Linked DNA regions of Homo sapiens: region 1 is linked to region 2. Evidence: promoter capture Hi-C in human tissues and cell types (Jung and others, 2019). All regions are on one chromosome and are shown on one strand. The core of a region is centred on a gene start or on the middle of the fragment in contact, and the rest is flanking DNA. Distances in the headings are between cores, read along the strand shown. Region 1 overlaps RERE (arginine-glutamic acid dipeptide repeats). Region 2 holds the start of SLC45A1 (solute carrier family 45 member 1).

Evidence for each region. The method cuts DNA at HindIII sites, captures the fragments that hold promoters and counts their contacts. A contact is called where the count stands out against the background at its distance.
Region 1: a contact is called between a fragment that was not itself captured here and the fragment with the promoter of SLC45A1 in region 2, in 2 of the 25 tissues and cell types used here (hippocampus and pancreas).

The regions. Positions count from the first base shown.
Region 1 is chr1:8,564,873-8,571,676 of GRCh38, forward strand. All of the region lies in intron 4 of RERE (arginine-glutamic acid dipeptide repeats), which reads right to left. Among named protein-coding and RNA genes, the nearest start is that of SNORD128, 73 kb to the left of the region's middle. The HindIII fragment of the contact is 3,600 bases long and covers 2,022-5,621 here.
Region 2 is chr1:8,316,208-8,322,482 of GRCh38, forward strand. SLC45A1 (solute carrier family 45 member 1) reads left to right here and starts at 1,907. Exons shown (of 9, transcript NM_001080397.3): 1 at 1,907-1,979. RefSeq lists a silencer at 1,737-2,016. The HindIII fragment of the contact is 6,823 bases long and covers 1-5,729 here.

The DNA.
Region 1 (6,804 bases), core at 2,572-5,071, 250 kb after region 2:
TATATATATATAAAACTACTATTCAGTCTTTAAAAAGAAGACTCCTGTCATCTGCAACAACATGAATTGAACTGGAGAATATTATGCTAAGTTAAATAAGCCAGGAATTGAAAGACAAATACCACATGTGCTTATTACATGTGGACTCAAACAACCCAACTCACAGAAGTGAAGAGAAGTGGTTACAGAGGCTGGGCAGTGGGGGGAATGGGGAGCTAATGCTCAAAGGGTACAAAATCTCAGTAAAGAAGAATAACTGGGTTTTTTAAATGATCGACTGCACAACATGATTAATATAGTTAATAACAGTGTATTGTACATTTCAAAATTGGTAAGAGAGTAAATTTCAAATGTTGCCATCATAAAAAATGATAATTAGCTTGAATTATTCTACATTGTATTAATGAATCATACATCATTTTGTACTCCATACATATATACAATTATAAGTTGTCAGCTTACAACAAAATGAAATTTTAAAAATGAAATTAGATAGGAAATATCTTGTAATATTTCAAGCCTCTACCCTATTTAACATAAGACTCTAAGAATGCCCGGGCACCGTGGCGCATGCCTGGAATCCCAGCACTTTGGGAGGCAGAGGCAGGTGGATCACCTGAGGTCAGGAGTTCATGACCAGCCTGGCCAACATGGTGAAACCCTGTCTCTACTAAAAATACAAAAATTAGTTGGGTGTGGTGGTGGGTGCCTATAATCCCAGCTACTCGGGAGGCTGAGTGAGGCAGTAGAATGGCTTGAACCCAGAAGGTGGAGGTTGCAGTGAGCGGAGATCGTGCCACTGCACTCCAGCCTGGGCAACAAGAGCGCAACTCTGTCTCAAAACCAAACAAACAAAAAGGATCTAAGAATTTTACATATCTATATATATTATCCATATAACTTTACAGCCATTACAGCTCAAAACGCCAGGAAAGAGGTATAGAAAAACCTAAAGCAGAGTATACCACCAGGCCTCAGGCCATCAAGGTTCATGTATCCCAGGGTTCTGCTCTGACATGGGGACCAGTGGGTAAGGGGAAAAACTGAAATACTGACTCCACAGACTCTTCTCAGGAGAAAGAAAGGACTGAATATACTTTATAATTACACCATCCTATACACATCTCCCAAATGCACTGAGTCATTAAACATTTTGTTTCATTTTGAGAGGGCAGAGTGAGGCCTCGCAAGTAAATTTCTTATTGCCATTGATAAAGTATCCACTCTTGTTTGATCCTGGAACACCTTCTCCCAACCTTGGTGTATTTTAGTGTAGCGCTGGAACTGAACAGACCTAAAAATCCACAGGGTCGTCTTCTGCATCCACTCTCAGTGGGGCCTGAATCCACCTATGGAAGGACCACGGCTGTGGCACAGCTCCCCTCAGGTGGCCACACAACTCCCATTTCTAAAATACCTTAAAACAAGGGGCAGGTAGAGGAAAAATAAAACAAAATAAAATACCTGGGCTGGGTGTGGTGGCTCACACCTGTAATCCCAGCACTTTGGGAGGCCAAGGCAGGTGGATCACAAGTTCAGGAGTTCAAGACCAGCCTGGCCAAGATGATGAAACCCCGTCTCTACTAAAAATACAAAAATTAGCCGGGTGTGGTGGCGACCGCCTGTAATCCCAGCTACTTGGGAGGCTGAGGCAGAGAATTGCTTGAACCCAGGAGGCGGAAGTTGCAGTGAACTGAGATGGCACCACTGCACTCCAGCCTGGGCAACAGAGCAAGACTCTGTCTCCAAAACAAAAAACAAACAAAAAAAAACCTGAAAACAAAAATTAAATGGGACACAGAATCCTGTTGGTGGTAACATCACATTTATTAGCATTTCCAAATGGGTATACCTGGAACTACTGGTACATCCAATATATAGCAGACTTCTGGAGGGATCTGCTCACAACTGGAATAGTAATTTTTTTTTTTTTTTTGAGACGGAGTCTCACTCTGTCACCCAGGTTGGAGTGCAGTGGTGCGATCTCGGCTCACTGCAACCTCCGCCTCCAGGGTTCCAGCAATTCTCCTGCCTTAGCATTCTGAGTAGCTGGGACTACAGCATGTGCCACCACACCCAGCTAATTTTTTGTATTTTTAGTAGAAATGGGGTTTCATCGTGTTAGCCAGGATGGTCTTGATCTCCAGACCTCGTGATCCGCCTGACTCGGCCTCCCAAAGTGCTGGGATTTCTGGTGTGAGGCACCGCACCCGGCCAGAACTAGCATAATGAATTTTTAAAGAGAAGTTAAGTAGATGAAAGAAATAGAAGACCATGGCCACATCCATCTGACTAGGCTGCTTACTGCTTGTAGGCACTAGGATCAAGGTTAGAGGCTCATTTTCAAAACCTATGAGTGGTATTCAATTCAAAAGACTGTTGTCAAGAGATAACATCAGCATCTGGGTCTGTGTGAAAGGATTTAAATCACCTTCTATCAGATGTTGAAGCATGAAGGGGGAATGGTAGGAAGGCAGATGACTATTCACAGTGTTTACAATCAAGATATACAAATAACTGGCTACATACAAACACTCAGAAAGATGATGTAACTATGAATGTACTGAAGCACAGGCTCAGATGATGGGCAATAATTTCAAAACCACTGTTTCTTGATGATGCCTTGTTTGTTAAACTTCTGCCGCTGTTAAATTATTTTTACACTTTAATATGGAGAAAAATCAACCAATATTTTGGTAGGAACTAAAACAGTGCATGAAAACTAAATCATCTCTGAAATGCTAGCTAAGGAGTCAAAACTCATTAAGGATTTTCTACTTAGGATTATATTGTGTATGAACACTGAAATTTTCAGACAATTCATTCTTGTATTTGTTTGTAGCAGAGAGGCCAAAACTAAGCACAGGTAAAACCTTGGGAATATTTGTACTTCTTGCCCTCATCTGTAAACTACAAGGCTGGGTAACTAGATGACCTCTGTTGTCCTTAATATCACACACACACAGAGATAAACTGTACGTCAAGGGGACTTAGCAGATAGGGACAGACATAGCAAACTAAAGAGCACTTCTGTAGCTCCCCAAAAGTATCCCACAATGTACTTCAACCTGACTGTGGGGTTAATATCAGGTGTCTGAACTGGATTAAGGGACATCTAGATAGTTGGTAAAGCATTATTTCTGGGTGTGTCTGTACAGGTGTTCCTAGAGGAGACTGGTGTGTCAGATGGTAGCCTGTGTGGGAAGATCTGCCCTCAATGTAGGTGGGACAGCATCTAATCGGCTGGGGTCCAGAACAGAACAAAAAAAAGCAGGGAAAAGGAGACTTTGCTCTCTCTCCAAGAGCTAAGACACCTTTCTTCTCCTACCTTTGGACATCAGAACTCTAGGTCCTCCAGCCTTTGGACTGAGGACTCACACCAGCGGCCCCCCAGGCTCTCTGGCCTTCAGCCTCAGACAGAGTTGTACTATAGGTTCCTTTGGTTCTGAGGCTTTTGAACTTGAACTGAGCCATACTATCAGCTTCCCCGCATCTCCAGCTTGCAGATGGCCTGCGATGGTCTAAATGTTTGTCACCCTCAGAAACTCATTCTGAAACTTAATCCCCAATGTAACAGTATTAACAAGTGAGGCCTTTAAGAGGTGATTAGATCACAAGGAGCCTGATAACTCATTAATTCATTGATGCATTCATGGGTTAACGACTTATCACAAGAGTGAGTCTCTTATAAAAACCAGGTTGGCTCTCTCTTGTGAGCCCTACTGTCCTGGATGCCTTCTACCACATTATGGCACAGCACAAAGCCCTCCCCAGAGGCCAACCAGATGCAGCCCCTTGACCTGGGACTTCACAGCCTCCAGAACTATAATAAATTTATTTTCTTTATAAATTACCCAGTCTCAGGTATTCAGAAAAAAAGACTAAGACATGGCTATCATGGGACTTAGCTTCTATGATGGAGTGAGATTTATTATTCCCTTAATAAATCCCCTCTCATCTGTCTGTCTATCCATCTGTCTATCTTTCTATCCAGCCAGCCAGCCAGCCAATTGGTTCTGTCTCTCTGGAGAACCCTGACTAATACACTGACAAATACTAAATGTCAGATTCAGCTTTAAAAGTTCAGTTTTGAAGGGTCAATTTGGCAAGACGAAATTTCGCAGATAAATTAAAATCCTACCCTTGGACCTCCAAAATCTGCTGACCAAACACAAAAATGAATCCCATTCTAAACAGTATTCTCCCAGCAGCTCTGGTTTTATCAGATCAACATTCTGAAGCACAAATTTTCTCTTTGGTCCAAAGGATTTCTCCCATAAAGGAAGAAAAAAATAGCTATTCGTAGAGAGTGTAATAAGAAATTGTCAAATTCCCCCTTAATCCCTACTAAAGCTTTAAACAGTCCATTAAATTTCTTTAAAAGCAAAAAAAAAAAAAAAAGAGTACAAATATCACAAAATTTGACATTTTTGTAATAATACTTTGGTTGTTGTTTGGTGACGGCGGTGATGGCAGTGATATTATTCATTTGGAGGGAATTAATGACTTCTTACACATGACATAGCCAGAAAAGTTACAGAGCTCAACCACACATCAATGGTGGGGTCAGACTTTGCGGTAATGAGCAGGATGTCAAAGAAAGGGTGGGGAATTTCTCACATTATTTAACATCACATTATTTTATAAGTAAGACTTACCAACTTATGATTAAAGATACATGGCAGAGATTTTACAATTAAAAACCGATGATGAGCTACCATGATAATATTTCCTTGAGGTTGGGCACAGTGGCTCACATCTGTAATTCCAGCACTTTGGAAGGCAGAGGCATGAAGACCGCTTGAGCCCAGTAGTTTGAGACTAACTTGGACAACAAAGTCAGACTCTGCCTTTACAAAAAATTTAAACATTAGACAGGCATGGTGTCATGCTCTTGTAGTCCCAGTTATTCTGGAGACTGAGGCGGTAGGATCTCCTGAGCCCAACAGCTAAAGGCTGCAATAAGCTATGATGGCACTGCCACACTCCAGCCTGGGTGACAGAGCTAGACCCTGTCTTAAAAAAAAAGAAAATATTTTATTGACTCAATACACTTTTTACAGAAGGACCTCTCAAACATCTTAAGCTTCAAGATTCCTTAGATTCTTAAAAATTATTAAAGAGTCAAAGAACATGGGTTATAGCTTATCAGTACTTACTGTATTTAAAAATAAAAAAATTTCTGGCTGGGTGCGGTGGCTCATGCCTGTAATCCCAGCACTTTGGGAGACTGAGGCGGGCGGATCACGAGGTCAAGAGATCGAGACCATCCTGGCCAACATGGTGAAACCCCGTCTCTACTAAAAATACAAAAATTAGCTGGGCATGGTGGCTCGTGCCTGTAGTCCCAGCTACTCAGGAGGCTGAGGCAGGAGAATTGCTTGAACCGGGGAAGTGGAGGTGAAAGTGAAATTGCGCCACTGCACTCCAGCCTGGCGACAGAGTGAGACTCCATCTCAAAAAATAATAATAATAAAAATAAAAAAATAAATTTTTTTGTAATTTATGAATTCATTAATAACAGTAATAAACCCACTACATGCTCGTGTTAACATAAATAATTATAACAAATAACTATAATTTTTAGAACGAACATAATGTAGGAAATGAGTAACACTTTTATTTCTGCAAATCTCTTTTACTTCTGGCTTAATAAGAAAACAGATTCCCATATCTACTTCTGCTTCTGTATTCAATCTGTTGAGCTATATCACACATCATTTAGCCTTTTGTGGAATGCACTGTACACTCCTGAGAGAATGACAGTGAAAAAAAGCAAATGACGTCTTGGTATCATTATGAAAACAGTTCAACCCTACAGACCCCTGGACCATAGTTAAGAATGGCTGGTCTCTGAGATGAAGTCGACAAGCTGCACAGATGGCTCCAGGTGCCCTCTCTTTTAGACACAATCATTTAAATAAAAAGTATGCTCCCGAAACAGCACAATGACTAGAGATTTTAAGGCACAAATTCATTTAGATGTCAGATACTATTAAAAAAGATTTCATTATTATTTATACAACCAAACACTCCAGACATTCCAGTAGAGAGCAGAAGTTACACAAGAAGAAAAATCTAAATAGGAAGCTCTCATTGTCAAATTTAAGGTATCTTTCCAAAAACTGAGCTCAGGATATAAAAGAAATATTTAAAGCTTGATTCAAACAAGTATTTGTCTACATTAAAAAGGTATACTACTTTAAAACAACGGTGAACCCTTGAAGCTGAAAGCATGCAGAAAATAATAACCTAGATAATTTCCGCTATTCCAGGCAACTTTCTGGCCATTTCAAAAATGATACTGCTTCCTACCTGAGAAAACTGGCATCATTAAACAAAACCTTTAAGAAAAAGAAAGATATTAGCTTACAATGTTAACTGAATCATATCTTTTATAATGACTAATATACCTAATTTATGTGAATCTAGCAATATTCCGCCCTCTCCTGGTGATATGCTTTTTGTACCACTGCTGTCTGAATTAAACCCTGAGTGTAGAGTTGGTAACACAGTAAAGTAATTTTTAGCAACACAAATATTTGCACTTTTAAGAAGCACTAGAGACACAGTTTTAGAAATTACTGACTCAAAAGTTGGCCTGCATAATAGGAATCCAAGTACAGCCAGCAACTTACCAATAAACAAATTCAAATAGTTGGATAAGAAAAGGGAAAATCAGCAGGAACACTAAAAAATTATATTTTCCTGGTTTACGTAAATCAGTCTGTCTTATCTTAAATATCTTAATTATTTCTTCTCTTCCTTTAACTTAAACCAAAACAAAGACGGTAACCTTTAATA
Region 2 (6,275 bases), core at 657-3,156:
AGCACACACCTGCTTTGGCCTCCATGAATCCACTCTCTTCCCTCATCGCTCAAGCTAGAAACTTCTTAGCACCACCCTCGCTGTTCCTGTACCCCCCCACCTTCAGTCAATCATGGAGTCCTAAGTCCCCGGCCAGTCCATCACCTCTCTCCCTCTACCAACACCCCCAACTCTCCCACCTGTGCCACCCGGTACGCCCATGTGGTCCCCTGGTTCCCTCCAATCTGTTTTCACTCTGAGCTTTATGATCTTTGCTAACTGTGAATAGGATTCATGCCATCCACTCCCCTACATAAAACCTTTCTAGGCTTCTCTTTGCTCTTAGAAACTGGCAACTGCCTAAGAGGCCACACCTGGGCCTGTCCCACCTCCCCAGCCCTCACCTCCTTCCCAGGCCTCTGCATCCCTGTCCCCCTCCACTTCCTTTGCAGTGTGCCTCCAGGCCCTCTCCCCTCCGGAGCTCTGCCAGTGCAGAGCTCTCTGAGCCCTCTGTGTGGGACATGCTGTTCTCTCTACTTGGCCTGGTAGGGCTCCTTGAGGAGCCCTCGACCCTCCCAATGGGGTGGAATCCGCCGCGGTAAACTTCCACAGGGCCCCGTGCCCCCACTCTGCAGCGCTTCCCTGGGGTTATTATTCCACTACCAGCTGCATAATTATTTCATCCGTAATTATTGGACTCAGCCCAGCTCACTTCTGCCCCTGGCCTTTGCACTTGCTCTTCCCAGTGCCTGGCGTGACCTTCCCCACACGTCAGTCTGGCTGGCCCCCCTAGCTCCTCAGGTCCTTCTTTTCTTTTTGAGATGGAGTCTCACTCTGTGGCCCAGGCTGGAGTGCAGTGGCACGATCTCAGCTCACTGCAACCCCTGCCTCCCAGGTTCAAGCGATTCTCCTGCCTCAGCTGAGTAGCTGAGATTACAGGCACCCAGCACCACGTGTGGCTAATTTTTATATTTTTAGTAGAGATGGGGGTTTTGCCATGTTGGCCAGGCTGGTCTCGAACTCCAGACCTCAGGTGATCTGCCCCTCTCGGCCTCCCAGAGCGCAGGGATTACAGGTGTGAGCCACCGTGCCCGGCCTGCTCCGCAAATCCTCCTTCTAGTGTCACCTTCCAGGTGAGGACTCGCCAACAACCTGATAGAAACCTGCAAGGCCAGCGCCTCTGCAGCCCCACACTCCCTAACCCCTTCTCTAGGGCATTGCCATCTTCTGACATACCATTTATTTTATGTCTTGTTTAATGTGTGTGTGTCTCTCTCTTAAATGTCATGCAGCCGGGTGCGGTGGCTCACACCTGTACTTTGGGAGGCCGAGGCAGAAGGATCACTTGAGCCCAGGAGTCGAGACCAGCCTGGGCAACATAGCAAGGCCCTGCCTCTCTGTATTTTAAAAAATGAAGTAAATAATAAATACATAAAGTATTTATGTATTTACTTACATTACAAAGTTCCCCCAGGGGCGGGAACTTTGCCTTGTTCTTGCGGCATCCCCAGTGCCTTGGACAGCTCCGGGCCCAGAGTCGCGACGCCTCCAGCAGGCCCGGCTGCCCCACTGCGCACATGGGCACAGGCTTGGCACACGCACTGCGGCATTCACGTATCCGCGAACACATGGGTATCTATTTATACATGAAGACACGAAAATGTATTTATTTCTTTTAAAATCAGAAGAAAACGGTGAGAACTGTGAGGCCGGGGGGACGTTTTCCTCCGGGATCCTGGCAGATCCTGCAGACCGCGCCGTCGTGCGCGAAGCACCGGGACGGGCCTCCCGCGGGAAGGGCCCAGGAGGACACCGGGCTCCCCTCCCGCCCGCGGGGCCCCAGACGCGGCGCCGCTTTAAGGCTCCGGGCCCCGCGCGGATGCGGAGGCTGCGGCCGTGACGTCAGCGCCCCGCCCCGGGTGATGCTGCAGCAGCCGGGACCGCGGCCGGGCAGGCAGCAGCCCAGCGGGGACAGGGATGCCTGCCGTCTCCACCCACAGGTACCACCGTCTCCTCCGCGCCCTCCGCCCGCTCTCTGGCTCCGTGCCTGCCGGGGCGCCGCGCCCTGGGCCCCGGGGTAGTCAGGGCGCCGAGACCGGGACCCGAGGCCGGCACGGAGACCTTTGTTCCTCGTGGAAGTCTCATGAATTGCAGAGTCCACGGAGCTCCCCCGTCTCGCCCCTCCGAGGGCAGGAGCCTCGGGCCCAGGGGAGGGTGCCGGCCAGATGGCAGGTGCTCTCATCCTTGCTGGCAAGGGGAGGAGACCCCGGCCTTGGCCCCAGCTCCTGATGCGCTCCTTGAGCCGGAGGCCTGGTCCCTAGTCACCTGGGCAGGTGTCATCCGCTCCCGGCTCACCTCTTGCGTGGGGCTGAGCCCTCTTGTTGACCAGGGGCCTGGCAACGCCCCTCAGCATCCCAGGGTTACTTAGCGAGGGCACCGAGGACTCCCCTTTCCCGAGCGAGTCAGCACCAAGGGGAACGCGCTGAGGTGGAAGCCGTTCAGCTCCTTCTGCCCTCGACAATCAGCAACTTCTCTAATTATTTCTAGAGTGACAGCCGTGCATGTTTTTCAGCTCTTACAGGGAAGCAGAGTCAGGGGCGGAGGAAAGCCACGTTCAGGCTGCACCTGGCCTGGGCTTTTGGGAAAAGTTGGCCCTGGAGTAGGGGTCAAGCTGCCGGAGATGCAAAGTGGGAAACGGCCACGATTCAGTAACTAGCCTATTAAGTGCACCCTCCCAAGTCCGTAGAGCACCTTCCTGGTCCTGGAGGACCTCACTGAAGAATTTTGAGAATGGGTAGAAAGAAGCATGAGGGGTCGGGCGCGGTGGCTCATGCCTGTAATCCCAGCACTTTGGGAGGCTGAGTCGGGTGGATCACCTGAGGTCAGGAGTTCAAGACCAGCCTGGCCAACATGGTGAAACCCCATCTCTACTAAAAATACAAAATTAGCCGGGCGTGGTGGCACATGCCTGTAATCCCAGCTACTTGGGAAGCTGAGGCAGGAGAATCGCTTGAACCCAGGAGGCGGAGGTTGCAGTGAACCCAGATCATGCCACTGCACTCTAGTCTGGGCGATAGAGTGAGACTCCGTCTCAAATAAACAAATAAGCAAATACGCCCTAGGAAGGGAGGTGGCCCAAGGCAACCCCGTGGGGGGAGCTCATTTTCATAACGAGAAGAAAGAAATGAGGAAATGGTTTCCGCTCGTAGTAGGATCATTGTAAGCATTCAAACTACATTGACATTGATTACTTTTATTAATCATTTGCCGCTTAAACTTCCCACAACACAGTTTGAGGAATCTGTTACTTTAAGCATCCTCTGTACTCTGGAAGCACAGTGGACCCCTTGCATAGCCTTCGGGGGATCCAGGGAGATGAGTGGATTTCCTTTTGACCGAGTAAATGGTCATATGGTACAGTAAAGATGGTCTGGCGAATGTTTGTATTTGTGCATGAAAATTAGATTTTATGATCTTAAATTCCACTTTCACCCATTTTTATGGGAACCTTAAAAATGGATTTTTGTTGTTGTTGTTGTTGTTTTTTGAGACAAGAGTCTCACTCTGTTGCCCAGGCTGGAGTGCAGTGGTGCGATCTCAGCTCGCTACAACCTCCACCTCCTGGGTTCAAGCGATTCTCCTGCCTCAGCCTCCGGAGTAGCTGGGATTACAGGCACTCGCCACCATGCCCAGCTAATTTTTTGTATTTTTAGTAGAGACGGGGTTTCTCCATGTTGGCCAGGCTGGTCTCGAACTCCTGAGCTCAGGTGATCCACCCACCTCGGCCTCCCAAAGTGCTGGCATTACAGGCGTCAGCCACTGTGCCCGGTCTCAAAAATGAGTTTCTAAAATTCTTCTTATGATAAACATTTGTGAACAGTTTTTACTAAATGTAGTTTTAATAAAAATGGTAATGCTGATCCCCAGATTTGAAGATGAATCCTTAGTAAAGACTTCTTCTGAGCCAGGATTAAGCTAGGTTTAATTCTGGTTCAGATGCTAGAGAGAAGTTCATTGAGTGTGTGAGGATCTCCCTTCTGCTAGGACAGGCTGCAGTGGGGTGTGGCGGAGGTGGCAGTAGAGTTGTCCTCTTGCAGGTAGAGAAGTGGGCCGTCTACATAGTCCACTTTAAATAAGGTCAAAGAGGCTCCTCTTTTCAAAAAGACACTTCAGGGGCTGGGAATGGTGGCTCATGCCTGTAATTCCAACACTTTGGGAAGCCAAGGCAGGTGGATCACTTGAGCCCAGGAGTTTGAGGCCAGCCTGGGCAACATGGCGAAACCCCATCTCTACAAAAAAATACAAGAATTAGCCTGGTGTGGTGGTGTGCACCTGTAGTTCCAGCTATTTGGGAGGCTGAGGTGAGAGGATCACCTGAGCCCAGGGAGGTTGAGGCTGCACTGAGCGATGATGACTGCACTCCAGCCTGGGCTAGATAGAGGGAGACTCTGTCTGTCTGTCTGTCTGTCTGTCTCTCTCTCTCTCTCTCTGTTTCTCTCTCTCTCTACACACACACACACACACACACACACACACACACACACACACCTGCCATATGCTGTTTAAAGCTGAAGTTTTTCCAAACTGGGCCACAGTTCTTCATTCCAAATTTAAAGGGAAGGTTTCTAATGCACTTAAGTTCACATTATGGTTAAAATGCTGATTAGAAAGAGTGGGAGATATGCCTGTGTGCCTGCAGGTGGGGAGAGGCTGGGCAGAGGGACAGAAAGGGAGATGGCCACTGAGAGCATACGTGGGGCTGTGACCTTTGGGCGGAGTCCGATCCAACCGTCCACCTCACCTGTGCTGGGTCTCGCCTCTGACTCTGAAGGAGATGGTCTTACACAGTGTTGGAACTGGCGCTCTATTTCTGTGCTTTTGATGAATGAAGCTCCAGGGGATGCTAACTGCTGCTTGGGGTTTTGAAAGGAAGACCTGCCAATCACCAGGTTTTACCATGCAGAAGTGCTTGAGCTAGGCCAGTGAGGAACATAAATAAGCTTAGCTTCTTAAACATGTTAATCTTGATTTACTCCTTATAAATGAATTCTATTTCAAATGAAGTATTACTTGTCTACATGGTTCTTAGGTTCATCTGTTCTCTTCCTACAGGAAAGCGTGGTATTTTCCAAAGCCACAGGATAAGTCTTTTATAGAAGTGACAGGAGACTCTGTCTCTGCTATATCACTCCCTGTCACCTTGGAATAAAACCCATCTCTTAGCAAGGCTTCAAGGCCCTCCATGATTAGCTAAGACCTTCCTGAGGGCTTCATCTCTCACCCCACCCCCACTGTGCCCAACTGTTACTCATATCTGTCTTTTACCCAATGATTCTACCCCCCAGGAAGGCCCTTTCCTCCACCTTTTTACCTAACTCAAGGACAAGAACTGTGTCTTTTATCTCTCTTATCTCAGTGTCTTGGTACTCAGTACTCAGATGAATTGGAGGCTGGGTAGGTGAGTGGGTGGATGAGTAAATGTTTGGAAGGGGGGATAGGTAGATGGGTGAGTGGAAGGATGGATAGAGGAGTGGGTGGAAGAACGGGTCGGTGGATGTGTGGATAGTTTTTGGATAGACAGATGAATAGATGAATGGAAGAGAGGATGTGTGGAAGGATGGATGGGTAGATGACTGAGTGGAAAGATGGATGAATGGATGTGTGGGTGAGTGGATGGAAGAGTGGCTGGTGGATGAATGGGTGCATGGATGGGTGGGTGGATGGATGGATGGATGGGTGGGTGGGTGGATGGATACGTGGATGGGTGGGCAAGTGGATGGGTGGATGAGTGGATGGGTGGGTGGATGGATGGATGGATGGATGGATGGATGGATGGATGGATGGGTGAGTGGGTGGGTGGGTGGATGGATGGATGGGTGGGTGGGTGGATTGATAGGTACATGGATGGATGGGTGGGTGGGTGAATTGGTGACTGAGTGGGTGGATGGATGGGTGGGTGCGTGGGTCCATAGTTACATGGATGGATGGGTGGGTGGATGGATGGATGGATGAGTGGGTGGATGGATGGGTGGATGGATGGATGGGTGGGTGGGTGGATGGATGGATGAGATGGATGGATGGATGGATGGATGGATGGATGGATGGATGGATGGATGGATGGATGGATGGATGGATGGATGGATGGATGGATGGATGCATGGATGGATGGATGGGTGGGTGGGTGGATTGATGGATGAGTGGGTGAGTGGATGGATGCATGGATAGTTGGGTGGGTAGATGGATGGATGAATGAGTCATTGGATTAACACAGTGTTCTTTATCCTGCTGGGATGTCT